Regions from separate parts of the Homo sapiens genome. Here all the other regions are linked to region 3. Evidence: promoter capture Hi-C in 16 types of primary human blood cells and fetal thymus (Javierre and others, 2016). All regions are on one chromosome and are shown on one strand. Each heading gives the region's core, a stretch centred on a gene start or on the middle of the fragment in contact. The rest is flanking DNA. Distances are from core to core; before and after follow the strand shown.

Region 1 (2,779 bases), core at 196-2,695, 250 kb after region 3:
TGGAGTTAGCACAGACCCCCCTCTCCAGCCAACAACAGATTAAGGGCTCAGTCCCACAAGACTGTCCCCCAATTCAAATGCCGGTCACAAGTCCCAGGTTGTAGTTCTAATCAACTAATTATAATTTGGGGAGGTCCCACAAATCCTTCCTTGAGTTCAATAATTTGCTAGCACAACTCACAGAACTCAGGGGAACGTTTATTTAGGTTTGCCAGTTTATTATAAAGGTCAAAACAAAGGATACAGTAAACAGTTGGGCAAGGTCCAGAAGATTCCCAAGAAAAGGAGCTTCTGTCCCCGTGGAGTTGTGACACGCCACACCCCTGGTATGTAGATGTGTTTTAGCATTCCAAAACCTGCACTGTAAGGAGAAGCTTTATCACATAGGCATTGATCAATTATTTATTCAGTCTCCACACCCTCCCCACTTCCTGGGAGATGCACTGTGGGGCTGAAGGCTCTAAGCTTCTAATCGTGGCTTGCTTTTACTGGTGACCACCCCACATCTTAAAGGTATCTGGGAGTCTGTCAGGAGTTGCTTCATTAGAACAAAAGACAATCCCATCACCCAGGAAATTCCAAGGAGTTTAGGGGTTCTGTATCAGGAACTGGGGCCAAAGACCAAATGTTATAACAAAGGATGTTCCTAGCACTCCATCATGCAGGAAATTCTGGAGGTTTTAGGAGTTCTCTATCAGGAGCCAGGGACGAAAACCAAATACGTATTTCTCGTTATATCACAATATCACAATGTCATTACACATTTCAACTACTAATAGTATTATTTTAATTATTGTTCCTAGCTAATTGATGACCTCCTAGACCCCAAATTCAGTGAATATAAAGGAAAATATATTTAAAACTTAAAAAATAAGAAACAAAATTTTATTACTCGTAGATAATATGTATACCTACAAAAAAATCCAAAAAGATCTGTAGAAAAACTCAGAACAAATATGGGTATGCTAGAAGGCTGTGAGATAGAATAACAATGTATAAAAATCACTCCACCAAGGACTAATTAAAGATTATAATTTAAAAAATCCTATTAAGGTAAGAAATCCCAAAAAGTACCCAGGAATAAAAAAAGGAGTTGCAAGGCCTATTGTGTAGAAATTATAAAACTAATGAAGGTCATAAAAAAAGACCAAAATAAATAAGAGATTTCATGTTTATAAGCAGGAAGTTCTGGTATTATAAAGATTTATTTTATAAATAAATTTATTACAAATAAAATGTATTACAAATTTATCAATTCAATATGATTCCAAGAAAAATTATAACAATGTTTTTGGTTTGTGTGTGTGTGTGTGTGTGTGTGTGTGTGTTTTCTTTTTTGTGTCAGGGAGGGTGTAGAAATTGGCAAGCCAAACACAAAATTCATATGGGAGAATGATACACCATGAATAACAAACATAATTTTAGAGAAAAAAAACAAAACAAAAATTTGTCCTAGCATGACTTATTATAAAGCAATAGATTAAAACAGTATGCATCAGTATAGGGATAGACAAATAACCTTGCCCAAATCTCTTTGACTTCCTAATGGCTTATAGTCTGCTTCTGTGGAATTCCTTTAGTTTTACTAGGTTGGTGCAAAAGTAATCGCGGTTTTTGCAATTATTTTTAATGGCAAAAACCGCGATTTTTTTTGCACCAACCTAATAATTGTGTCTTTTTCCACTCTCTGCTGTCATATTCTACACTATGTCAATCCAGATAGAAACTTGGCTCCTTTTCTTATGTTGTTCTGTGAATAGGTCCTAGCCAGGACCTCCTCCTCCTCGTCTTTATCCAAACACCAATACCTACCTTACTTCTGTGAGCCATAGGAGAGCGGTCATTCTGAACTCCTCATGCTTGATTCTGCCTTACAAATGAAAGTCATGGGAGAGAAGCGCCAGTCTTAATTCCTTGGGATCACACTCATGAGGCCACCTCAACCTCTCAAGAAAACAAACAACTTCAGCAACAGGTTCTTTAGGTGAAAGCACCTTTTCCCCAACTGGTCACCACTGTGCTGAAGCAATAAAGGAAGTTCTCACAGTATCAAGCTGCAACTGCCTAAATCAGCAATTTTTTTTTTTTTTTTTGAGACAGGGTCTCTCTCTGTTGCCCAGGCTGGAATGCAGAGGCACAATCATGGCTCACTACAGCCTCAAACTCCTAGGCTCAAGCAATCCTCCTACCTTAGCCTCCCACATAGCTGGGACTACAGGTACACGCCACCACACCCAACTAGCAGTTCCTTTGCGAGGCCTTGTTTGTCCTCCTGGCCTTCATACCACATGGAGTTAATGGTGGGAACAGCTATGCAGCAGCCCCATGTACTCCAATTTGGACTTATTACCCCCTTTCCTCCTCTAGGATATTCTTAAGACATAAACCATCAGGCCTCCCATCAGTTACCAGAACATAAGCTTCCGCAGATCATTTCTGGTTATCCTATCCCACATACAGTTCTGAATGTCCTCTAATTTGATTCAAACTTTTATCCCGCTCTATCCACCCAAATCCTTTCATTAGAATTTGTGGCCTGTCATTAACAAATTCCCCCATATCACTCACTTTTTCTCTGAATGGTCCCTTAACTTTCTTTCCATAAAGAGTACTGGGTCATCCTCAGATGACATTCTTTCCCCTCAGCCCTCCCACATATCACATATTTCAAAACCCAGGGTGAGGGTTGTTGTCTTTGCTCCTTAGGATTACTGCTTAATCACTACTCCTGTCCTCTTGTTTGAAACATGGAGCTTTTTTGAACTCAGACTTTACCTCC
Region 2 (2,887 bases), core at 297-2,796, 220 kb after region 3:
TATTTTTAGATCTACAACTGCGAAGACTTAAATAAAACACTTGAGTTACACGAGAAAATGGTCAGACTAACAATGACTGAAAGAAGGACATATAAATGCAGAAGAAACAGACTCGAGAAATGTCAAAATGTCCACAGTGGTTATATCTGGTTGTTGATTTATGCGTAATTGATTTCTCTATACTTGTTTTCATTTTTCACACATAATAAGCCCTGTTATAGCCAGCAAAAAATTACAAAAAAAGTCAAAGTCATCCTTCTTTCAATCAGCCCATTGCCTTGCCCCCTATCCTCCTGACTAGACGGAAGCCCAGTGCATAATTTGTTTTTCAGGCAGAAGAACCCCTTTCATTCCACTGTTACAGATGAATCACCTACTGTGGGAGTAGTCTTGGTACTCACATCAAAGTGTAATTCATCAGTGACTGTGATTGAAAACAGATCCTTTACTCTTTCGTAAGTTAGGAAACAAAATGTGGGGGCAAATGAGGAAAAGAAAACTAAGAGGTTGCTGGGGAGAAAGAAGGCAAATGTCACCTGCTTCATCATTCTTTTTAGAGCTCTCAATGTGTACCTTCAGTATTGCTCAGACTTTTTTTTAATGTGTAGCAGTGTTGCTATGGTAACTGAAAGCTACATCTTCTTCCATAAAAGCTTTATTGCCTTCCCTAGTGGGAAACAGGCAACAAAAAAAGAGAGCTCCAAGTTTCTGGGAACTGAGTCTTTATAAGGAAATATATTTTGTTGTGTTTTGCACACTGTTTCAGGTTCTTCTTTAGGTCAAGGTCACCAGAAAGGGTGAGAGAAATATATTTCTGATGCGGGCTCTTCCAGGAATAGATTAAACCCAGATACCAGACATATTTCAGGATATGAGGGTAAAGCAGGTTTTACATGGCCATGTGAAGGGACTTCTGAAGGACAACCTGAGTATAAAACACGTTTTATTATCATGATTATCAAAAAGTATGTGTCAGCCTCTGTGACCATTCATGACTAGTCAGGGCGCTGGGTAAGACAGAAAGGTTCAAGCTCAGCTCACTCGGTACTCAGTCAAAGGCAGCCTTAGTGAGCACATACAACCACATCAAGGACAGTCACACAACATGAATACGGAGGACAAACTGGCATGCCATTTGGTCTCACTGTTTCCATGCGTCCACAGCTCATTTCTAACTTTGTGCTTTGTGTATTTGCTTGTCTTGTTTACCTGTCAATAAGGCCTTCTCTATTTTTTTTAAGTCCCAGTCTTCCTTAAAGACCCAGTTATGAAGCTCCTCCCCTTTGAGAGATTGCCTCCTTTTAAACCTTATTATATGCAGTTAGCATGAGCTTTTAGCATTTATGTTTTTCCCCAGGCATTCAATGATCGTATGATCATTGAAGTGTTTTATAGATAATCATATGTAGGTTTCTGATCCTTCCTAGATAAATGCTATATTAAAGATGGAAGGTTTGGAGAACCTCCACCTCTCATCGGTTTTTAAAGAAAATGGCCTGTGGTGCTCTGAAAGAGGCAGTTAGTTGGAAATTCCAACTGCCTGTCCTTTAGATTTTCTAAGCATGCTTCTGTACTTGGTAGCTGCTGATTGGCTGTTACCAAAGGTGACTAGAGTGCTAAGCCAGTCAACAGGGAAAACTTGGCTCCTGACTTTGGGTCTTTCTTCTCAGTCTATATGGAAGAAAACTGAGAAAAAATATAAAAAAGAAGAACACAACTAGTTGCGCATCTCCTAAAGAGGTAATTACAGTAAAAAATATTAAAATAAGGACCCTGCTGGAGTATGAATTTATAATGTGATCACTATTCCATAATAATGGAGTAACTATAAATGAACCAACTGGGGGAGGAAATAGCTTCCTTCAATGGGGCAATTCCCAATGTTTATTTAGTGCCAGAGAAGAGAAAATGCCCAGATACATGACTTGTATCCAGTAATTATGTAAAACTTATAATAATTACAAAGGAATGATAACTGGGGGTAATTTAACTGCTAAGTAGGTCAGTAGGGGAGTGTGATGAGGAAAAAGAAGTTGCTGCAGTGTATGGAGATATGGAATTCAGAAGTAATACTTGTCAAGTGCTTATTCTGTATAGAATATGTTAGATGTTTTAAGGTATTTTTCATTTAATTCTCACAACAACACTGTGAAGTGCCTGTTATCCCCATTTTACTGAATAGAATATGAACTCCAAGAAGTTAAATAGCTTGCTAAAAATCAAATATTTCGATGGACAGACTTCGTCTTAGGCTAAAGTCTATGTTTTTACTCTAACTATGAGCTGAAAGTTGAAAGAAGATAGTATCAAATAAGGAAAAGTTGTAATATTGAAGGGAAAATAAGAAGAATGAGACTGGAACTATGCCCCAAAGAATTAAAGAAACCAGTAGGTAGCAGAAATTCTTGAGCTTGCAGGATGGCAGATAAGAAAGCTTGCAGAACAAGCTTGCTGACATTAAAACCAGAATTTCCACCACGTGCTTCATACTAACTCTCTCGAGTTTGCACAGGTGACCCATGAAGAGGCATAAAGATTCTAATAATGGTGTTGTATCATTTAATTTGAATGTTTAGCAAAGTGATATAAGATTTTTCTGGTAAAGGGACTATTTTCAGAGTTTAACTGTGATAATGTCTCCACTTAATGTTAAATTCGTTCTTACACCAAAAATATACTTGAGCATTGCACCATGCCGACAGAATTTTAATCTACCATTTGTTTCCTCTTACCTTGTGAAAACAAGTTGTTTTCTCAGATGATTTTTAAAAATGCACTAAAAACCTTCAGTTCTCCCCTGTTAATGTGATAAGAATGAATTCAAAAAAATCAAACTGTTTGAGCTTTCTATTGTCAATTAAATGTATTTAATAAGCAAGTCAGTTTT
Region 3 (2,737 bases), core at 198-2,697:
TTGGAAACCCTTCAATAGCAGTGCATACGGAGCTGTTTCAGTCTTTTTTTCAAAATAAGATATAACATACATAAGACTTCACAAATATTAAATGTACACACCCCTACATAACCAGCATCCAGATCAATCATTAGATTATTACCAGCACCCAGAAGGGGCTGGGCTGCCTCCCAGTCACTATCTGACTTTGAATTTTATATAAATGGAGTCGTTTGATGTGGACTCTTAAGTGTCTAGGTTTTAATTGGTTGCACAATAGTCCCTTTGGAAGCCCCTTACTTTATTTAACCCTATTGGTGCCTTGCTGATCGACCTTAAAGGTGTTTATAATCTTTTGCTTTTACAAACAATGGGGGGATGAACAACCTTATAAACATAAGGTATTTAAAAAAGTGTTTTACAGGAAATTTCAAACACGTAAAAGGAAATAGATTAGACTAGTATAATGGACACAGCTTCAACAACTATCCACATTCTGTTATTCTCCTTTGGGTAGAATTCCATTTACTTACCCCCAAAAATGCCTTAGGGAAGGCTAAATATGTAGACTCCAGAGGCTCAGCTGTACCAATGAATAGCTGCGTGACTATGGGGAGGTTACCTAACCTCTCTTATCTTCACCTCTAATAACATGGAGATGATCATTCCTACTGCTTAGAGTGGTGGTGAGGACAGGGGACCTGGATCAGGGCTTTTCGGCTGCAGGTAGGAAGATGCAGGTGGAAGCAGATGGGATAGGCCACAGTCCATCCACTGGCGTTTTATAGAGTGAGTGCCTTCTGTAAGATTTCATTGACAAAAGTACTCCAATGGCTTAAAAACAAACAAACAAACAAACAAACAAACAGGAAAAAGAAACAGGTTGAAGCCTCCACTAGAATGAATGCAAAGGACTCAGCATGTCTTATGTGCTGTCTCCACCATTCTGCTTTTCCAGACTGTCCCTTCTTCAAATCACCGTTTAACTTGTTAAAATCACTTTCGAGCCAGGGGACACTTTTCCAGGAAAGCGAGAAAATGCCAGGGAGAATCGGGGAATGAGGGCGGGGAGAGAAAAGCGTCCTAAGACTTGCATTGCACAAGCTGAAGTCTGGAATTCGCACCAGCGGGATTCCATCCTCTTCCCCCCCACCCCACCCCGCTGCTCCCCACCCCTTCTTCGGGAAGATCGCGACTCTCCCGTCGCTCGCCCCAAGCCTCTGCTTCGTAGGTTCTGGTTTCCCAATCGATCGTGAGTTTCTAGTCCCTGGAGCTGCGTGGGTCGTGAGTTCAAGTCCCTTTCCTTCCGGAGGCGACAACGTTCTCGCGGGTCCCCTTGCCACGCAGCGCGGGCGTGCACGCCCCTCCCCGCCGGGCCGCGCTGCCAGCCCCGCCCCGCCCCTGGGTGGGAAGGTCAAGGGGCCCGGGCCCTCCCAGCCCCCGCACCCCTGCGCGCGCCCGCCCCTCGCCTTCTGCCCGGGCGCTCGCAGCCGAGCGCGGCCGGGGAAGGGCTCTCCTCCCAGCGCCGAGCACTGGGCCCTGGCAGACGCCCCAAGATTGTTGTGAGGAGTCTAGCCAGTTGGTGAGCGCTGTAATCTGAACCAGCTGTGTCCAGACTGAGGCCCCATTTGCATTGTTTAACATACTTAGAAAATGAAGTGTTCATTTTTAACATTCCTCCTCCAATTGGTTTAATGCTGAATTACTGAAGAGGGCTAAGCAAAACCAGGTGCTTGCGCTGAGGGCTCTGCAGTGGCTGGGAGGACCCCGGCGCTCTCCCCGTGTCCTCTCCACGACTCGCTCGGCCCCTCTGGAATAAAACACCCGCGAGCCCCGAGGGCCCAGAGGAGGCCGACGTGCCCGAGCTCCTCCGGGGGTCCCGCCCGCGAGCTTTCTTCTCGCCTTCGCATCTCCTCCTCGCGCGTCTTGGACATGCCAGGAATAAAAAGGTGGGTTCTCGGCGCTGGACTTTTCTTTCTCCAGGGTCTGGAAGCCTTGCTAAAAATCCGATGGGTGGAAAATGGTTATGGCTGCGATTCAGGCGGTGTCAGGATATTGGAAAAGGCATGAGCTAGTGATGCAATGATATTGTTAATTATAAAAAGCTGCGCCTCTGTAATTTCCATCTTGAAGCGTTCTTTTGGGAGTGGGTATTTTCTAATACAGTTTCAAAAGCCAGCATCAGAGAGGGCTGCGAAATTCTCAGCGCTTCATTCCTCTTTCTTTTCTGGAAAGGGCAGCAACTTTGTCGTTTTAAGGGATTTTTGTATGTATTTTTTAAATTTCGGGAGGCCAATTACTAGTTCACTAGCAATTACTGCGCCGCATCGGCTGATAGACAAGCAGACAGGCTAGCTGAACACCGCGGGGCTGGATTTGCTCTATGTTTGTGTGGGATTCTCACAGAAGTTTCAAGCCAATGAGAAGTGGGAACTGCAGACAGAGATACATGTAAGCAAATGTTTTGCTATTCTTTAAGGAAATTGCAATTACAGTTAAGTAATCCTTAAGTCTTGGAGAACTTTACCTAAATGACACCCACAGTCTTTATTCAGCGAGCTCTTGAAAACATACTGCTTTGAACAAATTAACCTTGTGTGCGTATGTATGTGTCTGTGGGGTGTGTGTGTGTGTGTGTGTGTGCTGAAAACTAAGCTGTAACAATGTCATCCTGGATTGGGGACCAGCACTTCTGTGACAGGCAGTCCTGGTATTTGGTTGGTCTCTCCGGCTTTCCTTGTGTTTCAGGCTGAGGCAC

What was found. The method cuts DNA at HindIII sites, captures the fragments that hold promoters and counts their contacts. A CHiCAGO score of 5 or more calls a contact.
Region 1: a contact is called between a fragment that was not itself captured here and the fragment with the promoter of FBLN5 in region 3, in 2 of 17 cell types (M2 macrophages and naive CD4 T cells). The highest score is 5.9, in M2 macrophages.
Region 2: a fragment that was not itself captured here is called in contact with the fragment with the promoter of FBLN5 in region 3 in 1 of 17 cell types (naive CD4 T cells); the score reaches 5.6 in naive CD4 T cells.

The regions. Positions count from the first base shown.
Region 1 is chr14:91,701,225-91,704,003 of GRCh38, reverse strand. All of the region lies in intron 7 of CATSPERB (catsper channel auxiliary subunit beta), which reads left to right. Among named protein-coding and RNA genes, the nearest start is that of CATSPERB, 29 kb to the left of the region's middle. The HindIII fragment of the contact is 1,955 bases long and covers 468-2,422 here.
Region 2 is chr14:91,730,783-91,733,669 of GRCh38, reverse strand. CATSPERB (catsper channel auxiliary subunit beta) reads left to right here and starts at 1,584. Exons shown (of 27, transcript NM_024764.4): 1 at 1,584-1,740. The HindIII fragment of the contact is 1,781 bases long and covers 656-2,436 here.
Region 3 is chr14:91,946,404-91,949,140 of GRCh38, reverse strand. It overlaps FBLN5 (fibulin 5), which reads left to right and starts at 1,447. Exons shown (of 11, transcript NM_006329.4): 1 at 1,447-1,928. The coding sequence starts at 1,912. The HindIII fragment of the contact is 8,571 bases long and covers 1-2,737 here.